Regions from separate parts of the Homo sapiens genome. Here region 2 is linked to region 1. Evidence: promoter capture Hi-C in human tissues and cell types (Jung and others, 2019). All regions are on one chromosome and are shown on one strand. Each heading gives the region's core, a stretch centred on a gene start or on the middle of the fragment in contact. The rest is flanking DNA. Distances are from core to core; before and after follow the strand shown.

Evidence for each region. Contacts are between HindIII fragments. The study calls those that stand out against the background at their distance.
Region 2: the fragment with the promoter of STAC2 here is called in contact with a fragment that was not itself captured in region 1 in 1 of the 25 tissues and cell types used here (spleen).

What each region holds. Positions count from the first base shown.
Region 1 is chr17:38,873,003-38,879,790 of GRCh38, forward strand. It overlaps LASP1 (LIM and SH3 protein 1), which reads left to right. Exons shown (of 7, transcript NM_006148.4): 2 at 5,084-5,178. Among named protein-coding and RNA genes, the nearest start is that of LASP1, 6.3 kb to the left of the region's middle. RefSeq lists a silencer at 4,753-4,832. The HindIII fragment of the contact is 5,439 bases long and covers 602-6,040 here.
Region 2 is chr17:39,220,760-39,228,573 of GRCh38, forward strand. It overlaps STAC2 (SH3 and cysteine rich domain 2), which reads right to left and starts at 5,186. Exons shown (of 11, transcript NM_198993.5): 1 at 4,654-5,186. The coding sequence starts at 4,743. RefSeq lists a silencer at 2,612-2,781 and an enhancer at 4,444-4,944. The HindIII fragment of the contact is 22,351 bases long and covers 1-7,814 here.

The DNA.
Region 1 (6,788 bases), core at 2,071-4,570:
GGGTGACCTCATTTGCTCATTCAACAAATATTTATTGAGCACCTACTTTGTGCACCTGCTTTGTATCTAGGGAGCTGTGTTGTCAAGAACCTCGCCACGTCCCTCTTTCCTGGCTTGCTTCCCCAGGTTTCTGAAAACAGGTGGAGGTAGAGGATTGGTCTGCTGCCAGTTCCCCTGGAATCCCCTGTTAGGGTGGGCTCTCTGCCTCTGCTTGTCTCAGCGCTCCCTCCCCACTCGAGGGGGTTGAAGTCCTCACAGCTGTGGTGCCCCGTTTTGCTAGCTGAAGCTTAGAGTACCCCACCATCATCTTGTGACCATCCCTTCATAATAGCTACTAGTTATCACGATATGCTGGGCTCAGTCTTCACAGCAGCCTCACAAAGTAGGTGTATTCGCTCTTGTAAACGATGCACTCCATAAATGGAGGCTCAGGTAGCCCATGTGGCTCATCTCCCTCTCTTAGAGCTGAAATTCACATCCACAGTTCTTTCTGCTCAGCTCTTCTGCCAGTGTGTTTGCAGAAAGTACTTTTATTTATACATATTTATATTTTATTTACATCTCATTTGTGCCAAAAGTAGGTCCCATCCCTTCCTGACCCTATCTGGAGGAATGCTCTGGGCCTGGGGTCTTGTATGGGGGCGTGGGGCCACTGGGAATAATCCTGTCCTCCTCGGAATTTGTGGAGGTGCAGCAAAGATCTATGCCTTTAAGCCAGCGGGTCAGGTGGCCAACCAAGCTAGGCTGGTGCCCCGGCCAGGGTGGGGCTGGCATTGCCTCTGCAGGAGGGAGAAACTGTAACCCTGGGCAACAGGAAGGGAAGAGATGGTCTCATAATCCATCCCTGAGTCATGGCCACCCCAGGTAGCCTGGGTTCAGAGGCCAAGGTGCCAGGCTGCAGGCACAGTGACACGAAGCTTGCCACATCCCCCCCAACCCAGAGCCACAGAGGGACAGGCTGTCCCAAGTGAGGGGTATCCTTGCAGGCTTCTGCCCCTACCAGCCTGTTTACCTTTCTTTAGAGTGGGTTGCAGGTAGGCAAGGGAAGATCAAGATGACCCTGCCTTGGAGCCTCGGATCCAGGCTGAGAGGCCTCTAACAGGCAGCAGAGGTAGGGTCTGTCTGGTTTCTGTGAACAGGGAAGCCATGGACTTTGCAGGCAGCAGGAAGGGGCAGAGGTGCATGCCTCGAGGTGCAGTTTCCTTGAGTCCTGAGGCCCAGGAATGCTTCGCTGAAATCATCTTGCCTGGGGCCTTTAAAAGAGGGGGGCTCTTGCTCTGGGACAGAGCCCATGGGGCAGGGCAGAGGCAGACGGGGTCACTGTGGGGTCCTCTGGACATATTTCCCTGACAGTGTCCTTCCCCAGACCCCATTGAGACAAGGCAGGAGTTCTTTCATCTTAGGGTCCAGGCTTGGCTCACAGCGGTTGTGGAGGGACTGGCCATTTTCTGCCTCCCCTCCCCACAATTTTCCTACCCCAAAAAGGACACAGTGGAAGGAGCTGGTGGGTTTTCTTGAACCTTGGGGCCTTCCTCCAGAGAGGGTAGGGGAGTCGCCTGAAGCTGCTGGAGGTGCCAAGCATTAGGGGTGGAACGGCCTCCTCTCCTGACCTTCCAGCACTCTGGGAGACAGTGGCTGCAGCTCCACTTGACACTTGTGCTTCATAGTAACTGGTTTCCATGTTTCTGCTCAGAGCCCCCTGCAGGGGGACAGGCGACCACCCTCCTCTGCCCCACCCTTGGGTGTCTGGATGAGAGTGTGGGGCCTGTGAGGGAGGTGGGAAGGAGCTACTGATAGAAATAGGTGCCATCCCCTAGAAGAGGGGCTCTGCTTCCTCCGCGTGGCAGCCTGGAGGGGTCTTTGGAACCACTGGGTCCAGTGTTGGCCCTGTGCCCCCTGCCTGCTCAGTACACCCCACCCTCCTTCTCCAAGGGGCTTGGCTCCGGGTGCAGGCCTGGCCATCTGGAGTAGGGGTCTCTCTCCCTTTGTCTCCCCAACGTCAATCAGGAGGCAGCCTTGGAGGTCCGTGGTCCTAGGACAGTGTGTAGCCCTTCGTGTGTGTGTGTGTGTGTGTGTGTGTGTGTGTGAGAAAGTGGGTCATGGTCTGGATTCTGGAGAATGTTTTTCCTGGCAGGCCCCTGTGGGGGTAGGGGGAGGCAGGGGCCCAGGCAGGGGCCTAGGCAGGGGCCTGTGCAGCTAAGTAGGCAGAGGCCAGCAGACTGGGTGGTGACCAGGCTGGGGCACCCTGCCAATGCCTCCCAGTTACTCGGGGAGGGAGTGGGGCTGTCACTTCAGGGGCCTGTGGGGGCAGGGACCAGCCTGTCTTAGTGTCCCTGGTGGGTTCTGTGTGTTGGGGTATGCACCACTTCAGGGGCCTGTGGGGGCAGGGACCAGTCTGTCTTAGTGTCCCGGTGGGTTCTGTCTATTGGGTTATGCACCAGAAGGAGTCTTTAAGTTGCCTCATAGGAGTTTGGGGGCCCTGGGTCACTGGGATAGGCCCAGGTTGGGGAGGGGGCCAAGCTTAGACCCGCCACTTCTTTGCTTCCAGACTTCCGGCTGGCCGTCCTCCCCAAGAGTGGTTCTCCTAGCATTCTGTTTAATATTCCACCATTAGGTTTTTCCTTTGGGTCTTCTTGATAGGGAACCAGTACCCTATTAGAAGGTGATTTCCCCCTGAAATTACCCTGGGGGTCTCTGGTTGAAGTGGGCCATGGTAGGGAGGTTGAATCCCAGATTCTCAGCCTTCTTTCTGCTATCCCCTCCTCCCAGTGTCTCAGAAGCACCTCTCCCTCCGGGGGTTTGGAGACAACATTTTGAAAAGCATCGCCTTGGGGGAATTCCTTGACAAATGGCCAAGAACCAGCTCTGTGGCTGGGCTCCTTCAAAAGTCCCCCTGGGCCTGCCTCCTGGCCTCCTTCTTTTGGAATGGGGAATGTCTCCCTTGACTACTGGGAAATGGGGCAGGGACAGGCCAGCCAGGTCACTCAGGTGGCCTGGATTATTCTGGGGTCCTGGCAGTGGACCCCTGTTTGGTGGTGATCCAGCACATCATCCTGGGCTTCTGGGGGTGAATTTAGATCCTGTTGTCATGGGTTTGCCTAAGCATCAATACTTCTCAGGGGTTCCACAAAGACCCCTCCAGGCTGCCACGTGGAGCCTGTTAGATCGTTTCTCTTTTTTTTTTTTTTTTTTTTGAGACAGAGTCTTGCTCTGTCACCCAGGCTGGAGTGCAGTGGCACAATCTTGGCTCACTGCAACCTCCACCTCCTGGGTTTAAGTGATTCTTTTGCCTCAGCCTCCCAAGTAGCTGGAATTACAGGCATGCGCCACCATACCCGGCCTATTTATTTATTTATTTATTTATTTATTTATTTTTGAGATTAAGTCTCGCTCTATACCCCAGGCTGGAGTGCAGTGGCATGATCTCAGCTCACCGCAATCTCTGCCTCCTGGGTTCAAGCGATTCTCCTGCCTCAGCCTCCCGAGTAGCTGGGATTACAGGCACGCCGTCACTGCACCCGGCTAATTTTTTTGTATTTTTAGTAGATACGGGGTTTCACCATGTTGGCCAGGCTGGTCTTGAACTCCCAACCTCCAGTAATCCGCCTGCCACAGCCTCCCGAAGTGCTCGGATTATAGGCGTGAGCCACCGCTCCCGGCTAGATCTGTTCTCTTTCTGTCATCACTCTCTTCCCTCCGTCGGCCACCCTGGATGGGCCCTGTGTCCCACATTCTCTTTTTTTTTTTTGAGACGGAGTCTTGCTCTGTCACCCAGACTGGAGTGCAGTGGCCTGGGTTCACGCCATTCTCCTGCCTCAGCCTCCCAAGTAGCTGGGACTACAGGCACCCGCCACCACGCCTGGCTAATTTTTTTGTCTTTTTAGTAGAGATGGGGTTTCACCATGTTAGCCAGGATGGTCTCGATCTCTTGACCTCATGATCCGCCCGCCTCGGCCTCCCAAAGTGCGGGATTACAGGCGTGAGCCACCGTGCCCGGCCGTGTCCCACATTCTCACACGCATGAATGGATTGGAGCTGTGGTTGGCACAGTGAAGCCCCTCTGCACCCCAACACACACAATCTCCAGTGTGAGCCCTGACCCCCTCGGCTAAGGTTCACACCTGCTGTGCCCAGCACCTGACATCTGAGTGCTCAGAGGTGCCAAGTGCTGTGCTGAGGGCTTTGAAGGTGATTTCTCCTCAGTCCTGGACAATCCCAGGAGGGCCAGGTGTTATTACATCCATTGTACACACCAGGAAGTGGGCTCCTCTGAGGTGCAGGGCCCCGCCCAAGGCCATACAGTTAGTGGGGTAGAGCTTTGATGTCCACTATAGGGGTGTCCACCTTCAAGGCTTTGAAGTAGAGCCCTTCAGTGCCTCAGTGGGAGACCCGCTGCCGGGTGCTCTCCTGCCCTCCTCCTGGGGTGGGAGAGGATGAGGGAAGGGTAGAAAGGATGTGTTGTGTTGACAGAGCCTGGGACACCCAGCCCACTCCTCTGGCCAGGCATCCCACAGGAAGTGGGAGGTATCGGAGCTGTAGCACCACCTGGGGCTCATGTGGGGCTGGTGGGTGTGCTGGGCCCTGGTACAGGAGCTAGGAGCACCTGGGTTCTGGGCCTGGGTGTGTGGGGGCTGGGCCTTCCTCTTCTGAGGCCTTGGTGCCACCAGAGGAGCTGCTCCTTCATGTTCAGCGGCTGCTCCCTAGCAACCCAGCGCAGCTTTGCATAAGCAATGAGGCCTCGCCAGCTCTGGGCAGGAGGGGTTCCCTGGGGAGGGTGGAGCTGACTTGGGGGCTGCTGCCACTGCTATAACTGGGCTCTTCCCCCCTGTCCTTCATGCCTGCCTGTCTCTTCCTCCTGGGTTCAAATGGCCCATTGGTGGAGGATGAGGAAGGAGAGAGGGGAGGGGAGTGCCAAAGCCTGTGACCTGAAATGCCCCCAGCTCACCTGGGATGATTCCATGTTCTCCCCACAGCCATGGGCCTAGGACAGTCCCAGCAGCTCCTGAGTGCCCCTTCCTAGGGCCTGAGCCCCTTTTTCAGAAGTCCTGGTATCTGATGTATGTCCTCCTGTCTCCATCCCCAGTTCTGGCATAAAGCATGCTTCCATTGCGAGACCTGCAAGATGACACTGAACATGAAGAACTACAAGGGCTACGAGAAGAAGCCCTACTGCAACGCGTGAGTCCTGTTCTGGGCAGGGGGCTGGGTGGGCACCTTGGCTCCCTCCCCGAGTGAGTTCTTCCTTTCCTTCCAATAACCGCAAGGTGACATTGGCGAACACTTCCATCCCCTACTTGAACATCACAGTTTGTCCTCACAACAGCTGAATGAAGCAAGCACTTTTTATCCCCATTTAAAGTGCTTTTATCCCCCATTTAAAGTGCATTTAAAGTACAGATGAGGAAACTGGGGCTTAGGGAAGGGAAGAGACTCTCAAGGTGGGATGGCTAGGGCAAGACAGGCTCTAACCCAATTTCGGGCAGTAAGGCGAGCACGTTTCTTTCCACTGTCCCCTGCTACAAAAGAGGGGGCTTTCCTCGTGGTCTTTCAAGAATGAGTGACGTGTCTGTTGTATTTGGGGTTGAGGACTTTGTTCTGTTTACCTTCCCTTATTTCTCTCCTCAAAATCGACAGTTTCCTTCTCTCACCTGGGTACTTCTAGGCTTTGGGGGCTCCTTCCTCCAGTGGTTCCTTCAAGAAAACTCTCTGGAAGCCTCATGCCAGCCCTTTTGGTGTTCATTTTTTGAGAATGGGCAGGGGTGCATAAAGGGTGTTGCCTGGGCCAGATAGATCTCTTCCCTGCCTGGTGAGGGAGGCTGTGGAGACTGTTTCTTTTGAGTATAGTCATCTTGAGTATAGTGCAGCTCTGTTCCTTCTGCACTGGGACCTGCAGCAGCTGACGGTAGGGAGGGAGTATAGAGGTGGGGTCCCCCATCCCAGAGCCTGGAGGAATACCTCCCCTCCCATCCCATCCCATCCCATCCCATGCAATCCCAGAAAGTACAGCAATTTTCCATCTTCCAATTGACCTTGTGAGTAGCAAGTACAAACTCAGTGTTGGGGCCTCACAGCCGCCTCCACCTGCGAGGTGGAGGCTTTGGAAGGTCAAGTCACTTATAAGTAATGATGTAATGATAATTTCTTTTTCTTTTAATTTGCTTTTTTTTTTTTTTTTGAGTCAGAGGACTCATCACCCAGGTTGGAGTGCAGTGGCGCGATCTTGGCTCACTGCAACCTCCGCCTCTTGGATTCAAGCGATTCTTGTACCTAAGCCTCCTGAGTAGCTGGGATTACAGATGCATGCTACCATGCCCAGCTAATTTTTGTATTTTTTAGTAGAGACCGGGGTTTCACCGTGTTGGCCAGGCTGGTCTCGAACTCCTGACCTCAAGTGATGCACCGCCTCAGCCTCCCAAAGTGCTGGGATTACAGGTATAAGCCACCTCGCCCAGCCTTAATTCGATTTTTTTTTTAATTTTAACTTTTTTTTTTTTAACTTCAACCAACTCAAGTAATGGTAATTTCAGTGTTCACATGAATTTAGGATCTGACTTGAGTCCAGTTTTTTTTTTTTTTCTCTTAATTCTCAGTCAGGAGGCTCTTTGCAGCTGAAGTTCACCCAGGGAAAAAAAAATTTGGGACTTGTCTAAAAAGGGGGCTTAAACCTCCAGCCTTACCCCTAACCTTACCCCAAACCTTCCTTGCTTCCTTACCCCCTCCCGTTCCCTGGCTAAGACCACTCTTTCATCTTTTTAGGGGCTCGCTCATTCAGCAGACATTTATTGCCT
Region 2 (7,814 bases), core at 3,936-6,435, 350 kb after region 1:
CTGCACCCGGCCTATCATTTTTATTTTTTATTTTACTTATTTATTTATTTATTTTGAGACGGAGTTTCACTCTGTCGCCCAGGCTGGAGTGCAGTGGTGCAATCTTGGCTCACTGCAAGCTCCGCCTCCCGGGTACACGCCATTCTCCTGCCTCAGCCTCCCGAGTAGCTAGGACTACAGGCGCCCGCCACCACGCCTGGCTAATTTTTTGTATTTTTAGTAGAGACGGGGTTTCACCGTGTTAGGCAGGATGGTCTCGATCTCCTGACCTCGTGATCCGCCTGTTTCGGCCTCCCAAAGTGCTAGGATTACAGGCGTGAGCCACCATGCCTGCCCTCTTGTTTTTATTTTTTTGAGACGGAGTCTTGCTTTGTTGCCCAGGCTGGAGTGCAGTGGCACGGTCTCAGCTCACTGTAACCTCCACCTCCCAGGTTCAAGCGATTCTCCTGCCTCAGCCTCCCAAGTAGATGGGATTACAGGCGCCTGTCACCACACCTGGCTAATTTTTTGTATTTTTTTTTAGTAGAGATGGGGTTTCACCGTATTGGCTAGGCTGCTCTCGAACTCCTGACCTCATGATCCGCCCACCTTGGCCTCCCAAAGTGCTGGGATTACAGGCGTCAGCCACCGCGCCTGGCCAAGACTGGACACTCTCTAACCAATAAAAGGCTCTAGGTCCAAATATCCCCAGAAACTTACATCTCTGAGGGGCTGTCATGGTCAGAACATTGGAATTGAGCTAGCACTTTATATGCAGCATCTCATTAATCCTGATGCTGCCCTTGGAAGTAGTGATAATTACTGTCCCACTTTTCAGATGAGGAACTGAGGCTTATAAGGGTTAAATCACTTACCCAGGAGTCCTCAGCTGGTAAACAGCAGAGCCAGGACTTGAACCAGCGGCTTCGGCTGCTGAGCCCAAAGCACCAGGAGCATCCTGCTGTGCTGAGCCCTGCATGGGCCTCACCCTCGCCTCTCAGCTGGGCCCTGCCTGGGCCTCACCCTCGCCTCTCAGCTGGGCCCTGCCTGGGCCATCACCCTCACCTCTCAGCTGGGCCAGGGGCTTGTCCACAAGGTCAATCAGAGAGTTTAGGGTGAGAAGGGACCTGGAAGACTGGCCACCTAGAGCAGTCCCCAACTCATCACCCTGCGATGGCCTGGCCACATCCCGTCTCAAGAGTTGGTCACCTCTTGTGATGGGAAGCAAGCAGTCTCTTGGGACAGTCATTCCATCTTTGGGCAGCTCCAATGGCTGCAAAGTGCTTCCCCATATAGAGCTGAAACCTGCCTCCCTGGGATTTTCGCCTATCAGCCCTCCTTCCTCCCTTGGCTCCAGAAAGGGCTACTCCCTCTCATACACTTCAGCCCTTCAAATATTTGAAGACACCATCAGTCATGTTCCCCCCATCCCCAGGCCCTTGTTTCCATAGTAATCCTCATAGGAGGAGGTTCCAAGTCTCCCTACCCTCCAGGCTGTGTCCTTTCCTGGTACCCCTTGGTCTCAGTGCCAAGAGCCACCTCTGCTAGGTACCGGAGGCCTCTGGAACAGAATGTTCCCGGGTACCAGGGCAGCCCCGACTCTGCCGGCCGACTCCCTGGCTTGGCTGTGGGCCCCAGATCCCAGGGGGGTGGAGAAGCGAGAAGGAATGACATGCCACCTGGGGTGGCTGGCAGAGATCAGACTGTGGCTACAGGTCTGGGTTGGGGCATCTCTGCCAAATGACTTGATGCCTGACCACTTCAGAGACATCGGGCTTGGCTACCCAAACCACATTTTGGCTCAGCCAGGCCAGGTATTCCGGCTCCTGGGGCTCCTCATTCCTGGAGAGGACCTTTGCCCATCTCTTCTCCCCACTATACTTTTGGTGCCCTCACTTCCCTGGGACCCATTCTCTGGCATGGGGAGAAGCTGCCATGTACCTTGGCAAGTGGGCCTGCCTGGTCACTCTTCCCTCCCAACGCATCCAGAGTTTGTCCAGCTAGGAGCCTGGACCACAAAGTCTGTTCTTCTGAATCCCCTCCCAGAGACAGGGCCTGGCCTGCCTGTTTCCTCCCCACCTCCCCATATCCTGGACGGCCCCTTATTTCCTCAATTCCCCACGGCGTCTCCTGAAAGGGCATGAGGCATCTGGCAGTGGGTGGTGGCAGACGTGGCACAAGCTGACTCACAGCAGAGATGGCATGGGGTGGTCCTCCCAGGGGTGGCAACAAAGGGTGATGGGCAGGCCTTATGTGATAAGAAGGGAAGGAGACCAAGAGAGGAGGAGGACTCGCTAGGAAGGTTGCTGGGTGGCTTGGGTGCAGGGCTGATTCAGCCTGGGGGCAAGCAGGAGGCTGGCCAGTGATTCCCAGGGGGCACCAACACTGATGAATAAGCCTGGAATGTTGGCATCACTGCCTGAAGGGCATTGGCCCCCTCTGTTGTACCTGCCTCACACTGAGCTTGGTGGGCGGCACCCAACTGTACTCTTCCATCTCCACCCACAGTCTGGAGACAGGAGCTTCTTTGGGCCAGGTTGAGGTGCAGGATGGAAGGAGGCTAGCAGGGGTCCTGAGTTCTCTCTCTGCCCACCTCTGCCCTGCTGAATACCCCCGACCCAACCCACAGCCCAGTCTGTGTTAGTGCAGAATCCTTCACAAGAGTGATGTATAGGGGAGGGGCGGAGGGCCGGGGCTCCAGCTGGCCTGACACAGAAGGGCCGGATCAGGGGTGTAACCCCTCCCCTCCCCTACTCCTTGAATCTCCAAGCTCAGACCCAGAGGTGACAACATTGGAGGGTCCCTGGCCTGGGAAGAGGGAGAGGTACAGACCTGTGGCCCTTGACCTTCCCTCCCCACACAGCTGAGCAGGCAGCTTGCTGGAGTACTGAGGCAGCACTACCCCACACTCCTGCCCGCCTTCCAGCACTCCCACATAGGAGGAGGCTGGAGAGGACAGGCCTTGGTGTGGGAAACAGGGCAGGGCCTGGGAGGCCCCCAAGCCCCTGGAGGCAAGCAGGGGGACTGTGTATGTCTACCCAGGTGACTAGAGGGCAACCGAAATCAGGGGCATTGGAACTCAGGGGAGGTTCAGCTCCTAGACCTTCTGCTTGACAGAAGTTGTCACAAATATTCCAAGCAATATCCTCCCACCCAAACATCTTAGTCCTTTCCCAGGAGAGACTGAGACTTGGCTCTCTAAAGGGGAGTCAGCTCTGGCCTCACAGACCAGAGTCTCATTTTTAGAAGGGGGCAAGAGAGAGTCAGGTGTGCATGTGAAGACTTGAATGTGGAGACCTGCTGGGTCCCCTGGTGCAGGATGGGGGCTCCCTGGGGTGCCTCTGCCAGACTCCACCCTGACCCTACGGCCTCCTCCTCCGGTCACTCCCTTGATGACCTTGACCTTGAATTAACCTCAGCTCCTGCGGGATGGTCAAGATGGAAGAAGGAGGAAGGGGGACAGTGGAAAGAAGCCTAGCGAACCCAGGACGCCTCCGGAGCCCAGGCTCCCATCATTTCTGGTCCTCACTGTCCCCTTTCGCCTCTGGAGAACAGGAGCAGGATGGGAACAAAATACCGGGTGAAGGGGGAGGGAGGAGGTCTTGGCCTGAAGTCTGGGAGGTGGCAGGGCGCGCCCTTGGCACAGCCCTTTCTATCCCAACCCCAGGCCCGCTCAGGTTGATCCCGCAGAAACAGAACTTCTCGCGGGCCAGTCGCCAGCACCTAGAACTTGGGAAGGGAGCAGACGGATTAGAGGTCGGGGGAGTGCTGAGTGTGAGCGGCGGCCTCCCCACACCCCTTTCAGCGCCAGGAGTCTGGGCTCCGCCTGCCTTCGCGGGGAGTAATTTATTCATGGTGACTCCCTCAGGAGTAACAATCATCCATAATTAGGGTTAATGATGACATTCATTAATTACGATGACTTCTCTTTTTGCTTCTACCCGCTCCCCCTCCTCTGGTCCCGCTCCCGTGGTGGGGCGCGGGGCTGCCTGTCTTTCTGGTCTGGAGCCACAACCGCAGGCCCCCGTCCTCGCCCGTGACCGACGGCCGGCGCTGCTGCAGGCCCCCTCGCGGACTCCGCAGCTGCGCACCCCCGGCCGCGGCCTCGCGTCCCCGAGCCCAACAGGGCTAGGAGCGGGGAATGCAGGACTGCGGAGGGGCAGGGAGAGACGCCCTGAGACGCGGAGATAAACACCCGGAGACGCCGGGAGAGACGGGGAGAGACGCACACAGAGACACCAAGACACAGACACGCAGGTTGTAGAGACAAATTCAGAGACACGAGCGAGGATAGAGGCGCGGACTGAGCCCGGGACTGGGACCCGGCGGCCGCTGGAGGGTGCGCCTCGCACGCACAGCCGGGCGCGTACCCCGCCCGCACCGCTCCACGCGCGCCCTCCGGCCTCGCTGCGCCCATCTCTCCAACGAAGACCAGTGGCCGCCTCCCCAGAAGGTCGCGATGGCGCGCGCGGGCGTGCGGTGCCGGTGTGATCGGGGGCTCCTTGTGGCCCCTCGTCGCCAACCCACTCCTACCCCCGGGAGCGGCGCGGAGCCTCAGTGGTCACGCGGGCCTCGCGACCGCGACCCTAGGACGCCCGGGCCCACAGGAGGACCCCGCCGGGAAGAGGGCGCCCGGGCCCGGGGCGCGGACAGGCCTTGCGCCCCCCAAGTTACCTTGGTTTCCTGGAGGGCGGAGACGGTCCCTGGGGGGCTGTGGGTGGCCGCGTCATCCGGTTCGTTCTCCTTCTCGCTCATCTCGGTCATGGTTCGGGGAGAGGGGAGGAGAGGGTGCCGAGATCCGACGGCAGGCCCACCGCGGGCAGGCTGCGGGTGGCGGGCGTCTCCGGGACTCTGAAGCCGTTCTCCAGAGGCTGCCCCCAGTTAGCCCCCGGCACGGCAGCCCCCAACCCGCGGGAGCGGGCAGAGAAAGTTGCCGGGGTGGCGGGCGAGGGGAGGCCACCACGCTGAGCCGCAGGAGCGGGACGACCCCGGGCGCGAGGACCGAGGGTCTGCAGAGGATGCTGCTCGCAGCGCGGGGAGGAGGGAAGTGGGGCCGCGGGGATGAGCCGAGGGAGGGAGCCAAGGAGCTGTCCGTGTCCAGCCGGCTCCGCCGTCCGCTGCGCCCGCCCCCCATCCCCTCCCCTCCCCCGCCGGCCCCAGCCCGGCACCCGGCGGCCCCTCCGCCCAGTCCTCGCCGCCCAACTTTGATTTAGGAGGTCGCCTGGTCCCGCCCCCTGCCCTACGCCGCTCCCCCGCGCAGCCCTGCAAATCAGGCTCTCAGCTATTGGCTGCCTCGGTGGCCAGGAGGGCGAACTGGGCGGAGTCTTGGGGGGCTCGACACGATGGGGCGGGGCTTGGCGGGGAAAGAAGCGGAGGAGGGAGTTTCACACTGAAAAACCCGGGATGGAGGGGCGTGACCAGATTGAGGGAAGCTTGGGGAGATCATAGTAGCGTCTGGATGGGTTGCAGGGAATAGAAATAGGTTGGGGCCGCAGCAAGATAGCGGAGAGTGAGATCGAAGCTAGGACTTCCAAAGAGCGAAGATTGATAGATGCCAGAGGTTGGTGAAGGAAGAATGGGGACCCATCTGTGCCATTAATTGGATGCCTTTATACCCTGAAAAGGCTCTCTCCAAATATACACACAACTGGACTATGGTGTATGTGTCAAAGGCCAGGCCGGACAATTCCTCCTTGTGATGGAAAGCCGGATGACTCTATCCCCTTCCAGTCTTGGCGTCTGAACTTCAGCAGAGATGGGGGCTCAGTCCTCACACCCAAAGTCCCCAAACTTCTCTGAGACACGCTCCCCTCCTAAAGATCCTACCACAACTGGAGTTAGATCAGGGGATAATACAGAGAGGTGGGGGAAGAGGTCCTCACCATCACCTTCCAAGGTGCCCCTCTCTCCACAATAACCTTCTATTTTTTATTTTTTTATTTTTTTATTTAGAGACAGGGTTTCACTCTTTCACCCAGGCTGGAGTGCAGTGGTGCGATCATAACTCACTGCAGTCTCAAACTCCTAGGCTCAAGCAATCCTCCCACCTCAGCCTCTCTAGTTGCTGGGACCACAGGCATACGCCACCATGCCTGGCTAATTTTTAAAATTTATTGGTAGAGACAAGTCTTGCTATGTTACACAGGATGATCTCCAACTCCTGGGCTCAAGCGATCTTCTCACTTTGGCCTCCCAACGTATTGGGATTACAGGCGTGAGCCACTGTGCCCGTTCAAGATATTTCCAATATTTCTTCTTCTCCTTCTCTTCTTCTTCTTTTTTTTTTTTTTTTTTTTTTTTTTTTTTTGGAGACAGGATCTTGCTCTATTGGCCAGGCTGTAGTGCAGTGGCTTGATCACACCTCACTGTAGCCTGGACCTCCTGGGCTCAACCCTCCCAAGTAGCTGGGACCACAGGCACATGCCACTGCACCCAGCTAATTTTAAAATTTTTTGTAGAGATGGAGTCTCGCTATGTTGCCCAGGCTAGTCTTAAACTCCTAGGCTCAAGTGACCCTCCTGCCTCAGCCTCCCAAAGTGCTGGGATTACAGGTGTGAACCACCACACCTGACCAAGATACCTCTTCTAATGCATGTTGATTATCTGGGACCCATTTTCTCAGGTCCCCCTCCCTCACCTCCAGCCCTCTTTCCTTCTGCCCCTTCTGGCTCTGACCAGCAGATCTGGCTTCCTCTCTTGGTCTGCCCAAGAAAAGGGAGATGCACTGGTGGCTGAGAGAACCTTTCCCTGGTGTGGGTGGAGAGACTTCTGGGTTTAAGTCTCCCTCCTCCTCTGCTGTGGGTGGTAAGATTGTGGGTGGGGGGTGCCACATGGGGGGCCTGAGGTGCTGAAGGGGGCCCTTATGCTAGCCTGAAAGTTGAGGGGTGGGGTGAACACCTCCACCCCCCACTCACCTCCCCCCATGCACACAGCCATTCATAGGATCTCTGCCCTCCCAAGCACGAGCTCACCATTGGAGCCCTGCTCAGGTTACCCTGTCCAGGAATAGAGATTTATTTGCCAGTGGCAGAAGTAGGACAAGGGCACAGTGAGGGTTCATGGTTGTAGGGGCTCTGACTTCGAGATTTCCTGAGGAAGGTGGGATGGAGCCTGAGTGCCATCAAATCAGTCTCCCCAAAGGCCTGTTCATGGCCAACCTTCCCCCATCTCCCACTGGACTGTCCTTCTCACTCCTGCCCAGCCCAGGCCAGTCCAGCCTTCCCTCCCTGGGCAGCTCAGATGCTGGGATGCTTGCAGCATTGAGACAGCAACATCAGGCCCTCCACTTATCCTGGGCTGGAACACACAGGGCCTTCTTCTGAGTTTGGAGATCTTCTGGGGGAGGTGCCCCTGTCTCCTCCCAAAGAGCAGGGGCTTTGGGTTCCTTAGGGGCCAGTACCTCTTTGGTCACTAATTAAGTGTGTGACCTTGGGCAGATAACTCAATCTTTTAGAGATTTTGTTTGTTTTGAGACGGAGTCTAGCTTTTGTTGCCCAAGTTGGAGTGCAATAGCAGGACCTCGGCTTACCACAACCTCCGCCTCCTGGTTCAAGCGATTCTCATGCCTCAGTCTCCCGAGTAGGTGGGATTACAGGTGCCCGCCACTACATCCAGCTAATTTTTTGTATTTTTAGTAGAGAGAGGTTTCACCATGTTGGCCAGGCTGGTCTGGAACTCCTGACCTCAGGTGATCCACCTGCCTCACCCTCCCAAAGTGCTGGGATTACAGGCATGAGCCACCGTGTCTGGCCTATAGCCTTGGTTTCTTCATCTGAAAAATAGTCATCGTGCCTACCCCACTGCTAGAATGAATGAGATAGTGTAGAGTGGCACTT